3 separate regions of the Homo sapiens genome follow, and all the other regions are linked to region 1. The links are contacts of gene promoters, found by promoter capture Hi-C in blood cells and fetal thymus (Javierre and others, 2016). All regions are on one chromosome and are shown on one strand. Each heading gives the region's core, a stretch centred on a gene start or on the middle of the fragment in contact. The rest is flanking DNA. Distances are from core to core; before and after follow the strand shown.

Region 1 (4,194 bases), core at 216-2,715:
GTGAAATGAGGGGGTTAAGGCCTCTCAGATGTGGACTCAAAATACATTTGAGATACATGGAAATCATTGATCACAGCTTAGTAGATTTGGGAAACATCATCCTTTCTTTAGGATCCTTGGCTGTGCATGAGATAAAACGGACCAAGCGTGGCCGAAGAATCACGCACTAACAGAGTTCTGTGAGCTGCAGTAACAAGGTAACAATAAAAGTTGCTATTTATTTACAGAAAGGCAGTCCAGTGAAGTGGTTAGGAGCAGGTTTCTATTGTTGGGTGTGTTCAAATCCCACCTCTAACAGTTCCCTCTGACTTTGGGCAAATTACTTAACCTTGTTCCTCCTCTGTAAATGGAGAAAAGAATGGTACTTCTCTTGCTGGGTGTTGTCTAGAGAAAAGGAATTAATGTATGTAAACTACATTAAAGTAATGCCTGACAAACATTTTTACTATCACTCACTAGCATCTTCAGATTTAACTCTCTTCATAGAGATGTTAGAGGATAGTTTTGAAAAATGAAGAAACGTGCCGTTAAGTCTTTTAGATTGTTAGCAGAACTGAGACTCCATAAGACCTCTGCTTCCAAACTCTGCAGAAAAGAAAAAGGCCGGGCGCGGTGGCTCACTCCTATAATCCCAGCACTTTGGGAGGCCGAGGCGGGTGGACCACGAGGTCAGGAGTTCGAAACCAGCCTGGCCAACATAGTGAAACCCGTCTCTACTAAAAATACAAAAAATTACCCGGGCGTGGTGGCGCACGCCTGTAGTCCCAACTACTCGGAAAGCTGAGGCAGGAGAATCGCTTGAACCCGGGAGGCGGAGGCTGCAGTGAGCCGAGATCGCGCCACCGCACTCCAGCTTGGGCGACAGAGCAAGACTTCGTCTCAAAAATAAATAAATAAATAAATAAAAGTCACCCAAGGCGGGAGGGATGTTCCTGAAGACGAACGTCGCCCCATCTGAGGGAGCACTACAGCCCCAAGGTCAATACCCCAGCAGTCCTTCGATTTGCAGGCACTGGGGGTATCCACGACCCCCAGTGGTCACCACTGCACCCACGTGCAACTAGAGGGCGAGGGTGCGCTCCAGGCCAGTGAGTGACTTAGGAGCTGTGGCTGCTCCACAGAGATGCTAGCTGGGATCTAACACTCCCTTCTCTCCCATCCCTCCCCTCCTTCCCTAGGCTAAAGCCGCGGATACCTCCGAGAGGGCAGCGGCAGCTGACAGAGCCGGAGCCTCCCACCCCAGGATACACCAAAATCTGCAGCGCCTGCAGGAGAACTCGATTCGAGGGCCGAAATGCAGCAGCCATACTGTCTCGGACCATACCAACTACTGGAACCGGGGCGAGGAGGCGGAGCGTCGGTCCTGTCGTCGAGAGCGACAAAAGGGATTCGTCCAATTCTGGGCGCCCCGAGAGGTCGAGCTGTAACCCCGCCCCTTCCTCTGTCCGTAACCCGTTGGCTGTTCCTTTTGGTACGCTCCAAGATGGCTGCCTCCATAGTGCGGCGCGGGATGCTCCTGGCGCGGCAAGTGGTTCTTCCTCAGCTCTCTCCTGCAGGTTGGCCGGACAGCTTCATTAGGCCCCTGATTATTCTGTTTTTTGGGTGAAGGGAGCGGTGGGCTTTCAAGAGGAGAGGAAACGTTTCTGGAATCTGATTGCTAGGGACGCCATTTGGGGTGTTTGGTAGTGCAGAAGAAGGAGACAAGGTATCTGATCCATTTCCTTCCCTAAAATAACAGTATGTTCCTGTCCAAAGGTACGAAGAGCAGTGGAAGGTTATATAGCATGAGGGAATTTGCGTATGATTCGCCAGATTTATGTGTTGGGGTGGTCGTGCTTTTGCTGACCACGAAAAACCCAAATGTGCGCCGGGCGCGGTGGCCCACGCCTGTGGTCCCAGCACTTTGGGAACGCGAGGCGGGCGGATCGCCAGGAGTTCGAGACCAGCCTGGCCAACAGGGCGAAACCCCATCTCTACTAAAAAATACAAAGAAATTATCTGGGCCTGGTGGCGCGCGCCTGTAATCCCAGCTACTCGGGGGGCTGAGGCAGGATAATCGCTTGAACTCGGGAGGCGGAGGTTGCAGTGAGCAGAGATCGCGCCACTACACTCCAGCCTGGGCAACAGAGCGAGACCCTGTCTCAAAAAAAAAAAAAAAAAAAAAAAAGGAAAAACCTAAATGTGTCCATTCCTGGGGCTGGGACATTTTTCTCCCATCTGAGGTTTCTTTAGAGGGACGTCAGATAAACATTTTTCCCACCACCACACATTTAGCTGGACCCCTGGTCTTCGTGGAAGAATTTTTCAGTATTAATCTCATTTTATCTGATGACCTAGAGCACAACTTTTGATTGACCTTTCTTTGCTATAGTTTTCCACGTGTAGATAATAAATGCTATTAGTTACTTGTAAAATACTTTGATATCTGAACTAAATGGCAGCCCACTCAAAGCCTGCATAGTGGATCTGATAATGAAAACATTGGAAAAAAGTTTTAAAGTATTTATAGAAGCCAAATTTGCAGTGATTCTAACCACATAATCCAGACAGACATATTTGATAAAAATGCAATAATCACACTCGATTTTTCCATTGCCGCTTATCTTCCCTTTCCAACCTACCTCCCATCCTCTATTTTTTTAAAAAGCACGCACTTCTTTAGGAACAGCCATTAAACGTCAATGTGAAACCTCAGAGTTGGCCACCAGTTTTCTGAAGATTAAGTGGCTGACCTGGTGAAAACGTTTAATGTCACACATTAGGCAGTGTTATGCACAACGCTTGACACCTTAGTAAGAATTAGCTGTTGTAGCTATTTTCTGTTTATGTGGTTTCCGTGAACAACTACACACAGAGGGCATTTTGGGAGACCTGTCTTTCCCCACAATCACCTCCCCAGCCTTTTTTTTTTTTTTCGGGTTTCGTTCTTGTTGCCCAGGTTAGAGTGCAATGGCACGATCTCGGCTTACTGCAGCCTCTGCCTCCCGGGTTCAAGTGATTCTCCTGCCTCAGCCTCCCGAGTAGCTGAGATTACAGGCATGCGCCACCACTCCCGGCTAATTTTGTATTTTCAGTAGAGACGGGGTTTCTCCATGTTGGTCAGGCTGGTCTCTAACTCCTGACCTCAGGTGATCCACCCGCCTCTACTTCCCAAGGTGCTGGGATTACGGGCGTGAGCCACTGTGCCCAGCTGGCCCAGCTTTTTAATCTCCCAGTTCAGAACTCTTGAGCAATGATCTAGATATTGTCCTGACTCCAGAATGTAGAAAGGTGATTACTTATGCTAGAATGAAGCATATGCTAGAATGAAGGCATAGAGAATAACAGATAATAAATAGAGAGTAAGCAAGTAGCTGGTATGCGGGAGTACAGTTGGCTTCCTTATCCGAGCATTCTGCATCTGCAGAGTCAACCAACAGCGGATCAAAATACTACAAAACAAAACAAAAACTAACAATAAAAAATAATACAACAGTAAAATAATACAAAGAAAATACAACATGACAACCACTTACATTGCGTTTACATTGTGTTAGGTATTATAAGTAATCTACAAATGACTTAAAGCAGCTTGTCCAACCCTCAGCCCAGGACAGTTTTGAATGTGGCCCAACACAAATTTGTAAACTTAACTAAAATATTAGGAGATTTTTAGCATTTTTTGTTTTGTTTGTTTGCCCATCAGCTATCATTAGTGTTAGTGTAGTTTATGTATGTGTGGCCCAAGACAATTGTTCTTCTTCCAATGTGACCAGGGAAGCCAAAAAAATGGACACCCCAGCTTAAAGTAATGCAGGAGGATGTTTGTGGGTTATTTGCAAATACTGTGCAATTTTATGTAAGAGACTTCTGCATTCTCAGATTTTGGTATTTGAGGGGGTATTCTAGAACCATCCCCCTGGGGCAGGAGAATTGCTTGAACCCTGGAGGCAAAGGTTGCAGTGAGCCAAGATCATGCCACTACACTCCAGCCTGGGCAACAGAGAGATACTCCATCTCAAAAAAATAATAATAATAAATAAAATTAGGCCGGGTGTGGTGGCTCACACCTGTAATCCCAGCACTTTGGGAGGCTGAGGTGGGTGGATCACCTGAGGTCAGGAGTTTGAGACCAGCCTGGCCAACATGGAGAAACCCTGTCTCTATTAAAAATACAAAATTAGGCGTGGTGGCGCATGCCTGAAATCCCAGCTA
Region 2 (3,915 bases), core at 177-2,676, 3.2 Mb after region 1:
CAGTGGTGGGGGGATGTTTTAGGACATAACTGTTCCACCTCAGATCATCAGACATTAGATTCTCATAAGGAGCATGCAACCTAGATATCCCTCCCATGCACAGTTCACAACAGGGTTCCTGCTCCCATGAGAATCTAATGCCATTGCTGATCTGACAGGAGGTAGAGCTCACGCAGTAATGCTTGCTCCCCCGTGGCTCACCTCCTGCTCTGTGGCCTGGTTCCTAATGAGTTATGAACCCATACTGGTCTATAGCCAGGGGGTGGGGGATCTCTCTGCTTTAGAACATTCTTTTTTTTTTTGAGACGGAGTCTCGCTCTGTTGCCCAGCCTGCAGTGCAGTGGCGTGATCTCGGCTCACTGCAACCTTCGCCTCCTGAGTTCAAGTGATTTCTGGCTAATTTTTGTATATTTTTTAATAAAGGCGGGGTTTTGCTATGTTGGCTAGGGTGGTCTCCAACTCGTAACTTCAAATGATCCACCCCTTGGCCTCCCAAAGTGCTAGCATTACAGGCGTGAGCCACAGTGCTGGCCAAGAACATTCTTCATTTCACTCCTTACCTCTCATTCTCACGGCAAGGCATTTTTTCTTACACTTATTCACTAAGTAAAATCCTTTACAGATGGGGAAATGTTAAAAGAATGCTCATACACAGCTGCATGATACAATTCCTATCAATGGTCCCTAAGCATTTCCTCCTTAAACCAGTCCACTTGCAGAAAAAGACTAATCTATATAGATCTAGGGAAATATGAAATGGGAGTAGTTTACTTTATCCACCACGCATTTAATCTGATAATTGATATACTACTTCTGAGACATTTATTTATGAGAGTATTTGCAAAATTGTGCAAAAAATGAGTGCTTTTAGAGATTTTTGTTCTCCTTCTTATTGGCTAATTTTATTTACCACTTCAGACCTTTTATTATAGCTTCTAAGCTGTTAACAGGGATCATGAATAAATGATTAAAAAGCCGTTTATGCTAAAAATTTTCTGAAACTTGGAATTCTAACTAGTAAAATATCTATGACAAATCATGAATAAATATATTAATGGTATTCACTAAAGAACTAGTCCAGAAACTAAACAGGTTTGTTCTATCTGTTGAATTCTCTCTGATGCTATAAAAGTGCTAGACACATTTGTACAGATAAATATTTGACGTAAAACACAGTGGAACAAAAATAATATTCAAAATGAAGAAATACAAACACACATTCAAAATATGCATTTTTATTTACCTTAGTGGTCCACAAAGAGTGAGGCCAAAAAACCACAAGAGTGAAATAATACACCCAGCAACTGCATGTTTAAATATTTTGATCCACTATAAATGGAAACAAAAAAATTAAAAATTTCAGTCACATATATTTTGCTATATATCCAAATTTTAAATAAAATACAGAAAGATAATAATAACAAATATTTTAAAGGTGAAATCATTACATATTTTGTAAATAGAAAACATAAGATCCCTTGACTAAGTCTAGATTTCCAAGACAGTATTCTTATTCTGGGCCGGGTGCTGTGGCTCATGCCTGTAATCCTAGCACTTTGTGAGGCCGAGGCAGGCAGATCACCTGAGGTCAGGAGTTCAAGACCAGGCTGGCCAATGTGGTGAATGAAGCCCCGTCTCTACTAAAAATACAAAAATGAGCTGGGTGTGGTGGTGGGTGCCTGTAATTCCAGCTACTCAGGAGGCTGAGGCAGGAGAATCGCTTGAACCCGGGAGGCAGAGGTTGCAGTGAGACAAGATCGTGTCACTGCACTGCAGCCTGGGCGATGGAGCAAGACTCTTTCTCAAAAAAAGAAAGAAAAAAAAAAAGGACAGTATTCTGTTTTCCATTATCTATATTCTTGTCTGCTGGTAGATTTTGAAATCTTTTTCTTCAGAGTACAATTTTATGATTTCTCAGTTTCCCACTAGTTTCCTAGGATCATTTAACTTTTTGTCTTTAAATTCTTTTCTACCAGGAATTTTTAGTGATCCAATTATCTGAAAGGAGAGAAAAAAGTTAAAATGGGGTTTAGACTATTAATCATATTTTAAAAAATGTTCTTGGTCTCTGAAACAGAAGTACTTAAATTCGTCTTTCTAATAAAAAAATTATGACGCAGGTTTGTAAGTCATGGCATAAAGCAAACATGTACTATGGTATAACTGCTGCCCAAAGAAGTGACGATGTGAGATGATTATGCAAAATGTAGGACATTTCTAGTTTGAATCACAGCTGCCTAAAGAGAACAGTGACAATGATCATGAGGGTGTCACATTGTCACAATGATGATGAGGCATCATTCTAAGAACTTCATAAGTATTAATTCATTTTTCCTCACAGTTCTGTTAGGAAGTTACTGTTATCTCCATTTTACAGTGAGCAAATTAAGGTAGAGAGAAATCAAGTAACTTGCCCAAAGTAAGGGTCAGTAAGGAGGACAGACAGAACATGACTTTGTCTGACTCCAGAAATCACACTCTTAACCCCTATGCTTTGTCAGCTTTCCAGTGACATTTGTACTAGGCTCTTGGGCATGCTTTCATGTCCAATTTGTAAATCTTTCAGAATAAGAAGTGTGTACTGAAGAAAACAATTACATGAATGCTTTATAATTTTTTTTACCCTCTTGTTTTTTTTAAAAACATTCCATGATCTTAGTACTTTATGATTTAAAGTCTCCATTCTGAAAAGACAAGAGCAAGTTAACTCTAAAATTGTTCTGTGGCATACTTAAATCATTCATTAAGTACCCATTATAAAAAATAAGCATTGCCTCCTGGCCCACTAAACGAGAAGCTGCTAGGAATAAAAGATTCTGCAAAAATCTTACCTGGTGTTTGGTAATAGTTTTCCCAGAAGAAAATGGCTTTTGAAACAAAACCATAAAAAATGCAGTCCTGTAAATATTGAAACATTAATATATTAATATTAATCCATATTAAACACAAGATACAGTTTTAAGTAAAGACACTTATTTTAAACAAATATGCCAGAACTTGAAGTGTTATCCTCTGAATAAATCATACTGGAGAATTAATTATACTTATTTTAGTAAAACTCCTATTGCAATATTTTGATAACTTTTTTTTTTTTTTTTTTGAGATGGAGTCTTGCTCTGTCACCAGGCTGGAGTGCAGTGGCACGATCTTGGCTCACTGCAACCTCTGCCTCCCGGGTTCAAGCAATTCTCCTGCCTCAGCCTCCTGAGTAGCAGGGATTACAGGTGTGCGCCACCACGCCCAGCCAATTTTTCGTATTTTTAGTAGAGATGGTGTTTCAACACGTTGGCCAGGCTGGTCTCGAACTCCTGACTTCAGGTGATCCGCCTGCCTCGGCCTCCCAAACTGCTGGGAAAACAGGCATGAGCTATCACACCTGGCCGAGAACTCTTATTTTCTAACTGTCTTCAGAACCAGCTAACAAGCCACAAAAATAAAGGAGTCACAATTTTTTTTATATCTTAAAATATCAAAGAAGAGAATTCCTATTTTCTCTAAAATTCAGTAATAAATCTTGAAATAGTATAATGAAAATGAAGAAATTACTAATTATATATCCCTACCTTTCACATTGCCAAAATAGTTATATAAAAATGCACACAACTTGGCCAGGCACAGTGGCTCAAGCTTGTAATCCCAGCACTTTGGGTGGCCGAGGTGGGCGGATCACCTGAGGTCAGGAGTTGGAGACCAGCCTGGCCAACATGGCAAAACCCCGTGTCTACTAAAAAAAATACAAAAATTAGCTGGCCATGGTGGGACACACCTGTAATCCTAGCTACTCAGGAGGCTGAGACAGAATTGCTTGAACCCTGGAGGCAGAGGCTGCAGTGAGTTGAGATTGAGCCACTGCACTCCAGCCTGCGCAACCTAGCCAGACTGTCTCAAAAAAAAAAAAAAAAAAAAAAAGCACGT
Region 3 (4,148 bases), core at 1,202-3,701, 3.3 Mb after region 1:
AGTGGATAAAAGGTAAGCAAGAGATGATCTCAGTGGATATCAGTGTTAGCCTGATCCCACAGGGAGTTCTGGAGCATGAATTGCACCATAAAGCTGTCCAACCTTTTATACCCCTGTGCTGGCTACAATGTGCCGCAGGATGGAGAATTCTCTATAGAAGGGGGCAACTGTGAACCATTAGCTGCTAACACTCATAGCAGCCAAGAGATGGGTGCACTGGCTTCTTCAGGGGATCTAGGCCGAGCTACAGCAGCACCCCCTGCAGATGGCGTACTGCAGGAAGGATACTGTACTATATATGCTTGTACATGCATGGGAATCTAAGAGTAGATGCTCTTATCCTGGAGTCCATGGATCCCTAAGGGATTCACAGATAGAACAGTATTACAGGCAAATTGGTTTCTTTTGTAATCCTCTGCACTTTAGCTTACATATTTTCAAACATTGTTCTGAGAGGGGGATCCATAAGCTTTATCAGATACTGAAGTGGTCTGTGGTACACACACAAAAATGAAGAGAACAAGAAAGTGGTAACAGTGTTTGCCTTGGGTGGGGGATGAATTCTAGGGGTCTGGAGTCAGGAGTGGGAAAGAGATTCCTATTCTTTGTATATCCTTTTGTGCTATTGGGATTTTTGCTGTGTGCATGGATTACATTCTAAAAAGATTAAAACATAAGAAAATGTATTTTTAAAAACTACCTCCCCACATTTTTTTTTTTAAAGAGACAGAATCTTGCTCTGTCACCCAGGCTGGAGTGCAGTGGTGTGATCGTGGCTCACTGCAGCCTTGAACTCCTGGGCTCAAGCCATCCTCCTGCCTCAGCCTCCTGAGTAGCTGGGACCACAGGTGTGTGCCACCACATCTGGCTAATTTTTAAATTTTTTGTAGAGATGGGGTTTCACTATGTTGTCCAGGCTGGTCTTGAACTCCTGGCCTTAAGCGATTGTCTTGCCTCAGTTTCCTAAAATGTTGGGATTACAACTATGAGCCACTGTACCCAACCCTATTTTTCCTGGATTTTCTCTTCACTCTTACTTCCTACGTTGCCTTTTCTGTTTTATACAATTTCTGCAATTGCTTGTCTTCCTCTTCCTAAAGTCTCTTCCTATCTCTAATGCTTGCATTTGATTTTAAAGCTGTTCTGGCACACTTGAATAGAATCCTGCATAATAATCTTTCACTAATTTTTCCCCCGACTCCTTATCAAATGTTCACTAAAGTGTATAGTTATTTCTTAGCATATATGCACATACTTGCAAAATAGACCACTATAATCTGCACAATTCTTCTTAAATTCAGCTTTTAAAACATGCCTTTAAATGAAGAAAATATTTGTATAATGAGAATAAATTTTGAAGGTTGTTTCACATTCAAGATTCTTTGAGGTTTTTAACCAGAACAGGTTTGGGGACAACAACTGATGCCTCCTTTAATCACAATACATTTTTAAAAAGTTGAGATTTACTAAAATCTACCTTTCAGGATTTTAAAATGGATGTGCAATCTCCACCACTTTTATTGCCAAGGGAGCACGCATCTGCCCTGGAAAACCTTCCTGTGGAGCGATGTCAGCAGAGATAAATGAATGAGAGTACATGCAGTTCTGGAATAATAGTGCAATTTGGCTAAAGGGTGACATCATCTTTTCACTGTTGTATGTGCCATTCTAAGTAGCAATAAGTCCAGCTGAGCTAGAGAATGAATTATAAGGAAAGTACATTGGCAAGGTGGAATAAAATATAAAAAATTGAAAAAGAAGGTAGCTTTGAATAGATCCAGTCCGCAATATATTTTTTGATATGGAAGGTCTTGATTTAATCACCACATCATAATTTGCCATTATTTTGGATTATGTGGAAAGATGCAAAGCTTCTTTCCTAATGGCTGGTTTGCTATATATACACATGTGTACCACCAGAGTATAAATAGGGACGTTGGAATTGATTTTAGTCTTTAAAGTGTACACTTAAATGCTGGAAAATAAAATGCCTTTATCAGTTAAATCTCCTTACTGTGATTCTACATGCCTCATTGGTAACACTTGAAGAAGGGTTTGCTGGGTTTTATTTGGATCGAGAAAAGAATGCCATCATCCTTCATGCTGATGAACCCAGGGGAGGATCAGTTTGTGATTCTGCATGGGTTCTTGAGGGGTCGGCCAGTATTAACTCATTGCTTTTTTTCTCTTTAAGTAACAGCTTTATTGAGATTGGATTAACATCCCAATATATTGCTTCTGTTCTCTAATTTTTTAGAGTGCAACTCAAACCCCTAATATCTCCTTGTCTTCTAATTCCTCAGGCAACAGATGACTTTCTGCAAAGGCACTGATAATAGCTATGAGGAATAAATATTGCAGATGGATTAAATCAAAGAATCAAATTTCAAAGCCAAATTAGTCGTGAAAAGGAGGGAGAAGCAGAAATGAAGAAAAAAGAACCACAGAAGTAAAATCAGCAGCATTGAAAAGAAAATCATCTGCTGTTTGAATAAAGACCCAAGATCTTTCATTGTTGGATCCCCAAAGCCAGTGCCTTTTTTGAGCAGCAAGTCCCAAGATCAAGAAATCAGAAGGAACTAATACTTTAACTAATTAGTAGTAATGAAAATTTACTAGACATCAATGACAAATTTACAAGGCAAATTTATTTCCAAAGTACATTCATATATATCACAGGTAAAATGAGGTTTTCACAAACACCATTTTAAACATAGGGTTTATTTGCAGGAGCTATTTTTGTGGCTTAGGGAACAAATGGTTCATTGAAACAGAACTTTGCTGGTCTGGTTTCAAAGAATTCTATTATATAAAAGATTCTGTAGAACAGATGGGATCAAAAGTCCCTGAACACAGAACAGGAATATCAGGTAATGAAAATGTTCTTTTGGTATAGTATTATGTTTTATGCTTTGAAAGTATTAGTATGCAAGGAACTCAGGCAAGAGCATAAAAGAGGAAGTAGGAATAATACTTTATGTTTGAATAGGCTTTAGACTTTCCAAAATACTTACATCCTACTGAAGCTTGGTAGCAAGTATTATCCTTGTTTTATTGATGAAAAACATGCTTCCAAGAAAGATGCATTACAAGCGACAGAAAACTCAAAGTGGATTACACAGTAAAAGGTATCTGTCTCTCTGTCTGTCTCTGTCTCTGTGTTTTGGCTCACAGAATTGAAAAGTTCAGGACTAGAGTGAGCTTTCAATGTGCCTTGAAAGAGATGTTCGATTGATACCATCAGGGCCCAGATTCCCTTGACATCTCTTAGTTCTGTTTTCCTAGTATGTGGTTAACTCTGATTAGCCAGGATGGAGACAATAACTCCTGAGCTAAATATGTGGAGTGGGGCAAGGATGGCCCTCTACAGGCGAAGGTGGGGGTGCATTTTAATATGAGTATGGGGGAAAGGATCAGATCTGGGCTAGATCTGATATTCAAGAGGTGTAAACAGATGACCAACAAGATGTTAACAAGATGACACGATTAGAAAGATTTTAATCAAGCCTAGAACCCAGCTCCTCTGAATCCTGGCAAAACATAGGTAGGAACAAAACTGGGAAACAAGACAAGGGATGTCCCAGGAGCTGATGTTTCAGTAAGAGCATAGTTGAGAAGAGACAGAAGAAAACAATAGTTAACAGAGGTAGGTGGATTTAGAAAGAAGGCTTTACTTTGAACAAGACTTGATCCCAGTTGAGACTTTGCTGAAGGAATCCCTAATAGACAGACCTGAGCCACCTCCTTCCTTTGTCATATATATGTATCTCATAGGCATCTTACAAATATGATGACTGCTCTATAAATAACCGAGAAATCTTAGTTTCTGGATCTTACCCTGGCCCAACTCCAAATTATCTTCTTTGGTTTTAGCTGGATCTTTAGGAAGACTGGTCTGCCTAATTTTGTTGCATCTCATTGTGCCCTATTTGCCAGGCCGCTTTGATAAGGAGATCTTCATATAATTCCTTTCTGTGTTGCTGCCCTGTCTTCCATGTTTAGAGTTCGAATCCTCCTTTTCTAATAGCTGAAACACACCCAGATCAAAATAAGCTTCATTAAGGCGGCATTCTACAAAGACAGTGGTTCTCCAATGGTGGTCCTCAGATTACCTGCATTTTTTTTGATGCCTTGTGGAAATAGAAAAA

The links. The method cuts DNA at HindIII sites, captures the fragments that hold promoters and counts their contacts. A CHiCAGO score of 5 or more calls a contact.
Region 2: a contact is called between a fragment that was not itself captured here and the fragment with the promoter of MRPS27 in region 1, in 1 of 17 cell types (non-activated CD4 T cells). The highest score is 6.0, in non-activated CD4 T cells.
Region 3: a fragment that was not itself captured here is called in contact with the fragment with the promoter of MRPS27 in region 1 in 1 of 17 cell types (total CD4 T cells); the score reaches 7.7 in total CD4 T cells.

Annotation. Positions count from the first base shown.
Region 1 is chr5:72,317,511-72,321,704 of GRCh38, reverse strand. It overlaps MRPS27 (mitochondrial ribosomal protein S27), which reads left to right and starts at 1,465. Exons shown (of 11, transcript NM_015084.3): 1 at 1,465-1,556. The coding sequence starts at 1,484. It overlaps PTCD2 (pentatricopeptide repeat domain 2), which reads right to left and starts at 1,332. Exons shown (of 10, transcript NM_024754.5): 1 at 1,196-1,332. The coding sequence starts at 1,322. RefSeq lists enhancers at 1,134-1,343, 1,404-1,733, 1,332-1,872, 1,873-2,414. The HindIII fragment of the contact is 19,626 bases long and covers 1-4,194 here.
Region 2 is chr5:69,102,045-69,105,959 of GRCh38, reverse strand. SLC30A5 (solute carrier family 30 member 5) reads right to left here. Exons shown (of 16, transcript NM_022902.5): 3 at 2,832-2,898; 4 at 1,244-1,329. Among named protein-coding and RNA genes, the nearest start is that of SLC30A5, 10 kb to the right of the region's middle. The HindIII fragment of the contact is 4,406 bases long and covers 1-3,629 here.
Region 3 is chr5:69,028,319-69,032,466 of GRCh38, reverse strand. LINC02198 (long intergenic non-protein coding RNA 2198) reads left to right here and starts at 2,540. Exons shown (of 4, transcript NR_130778.1): 1 at 2,540-2,679. The HindIII fragment of the contact is 1,155 bases long and covers 1,874-3,028 here.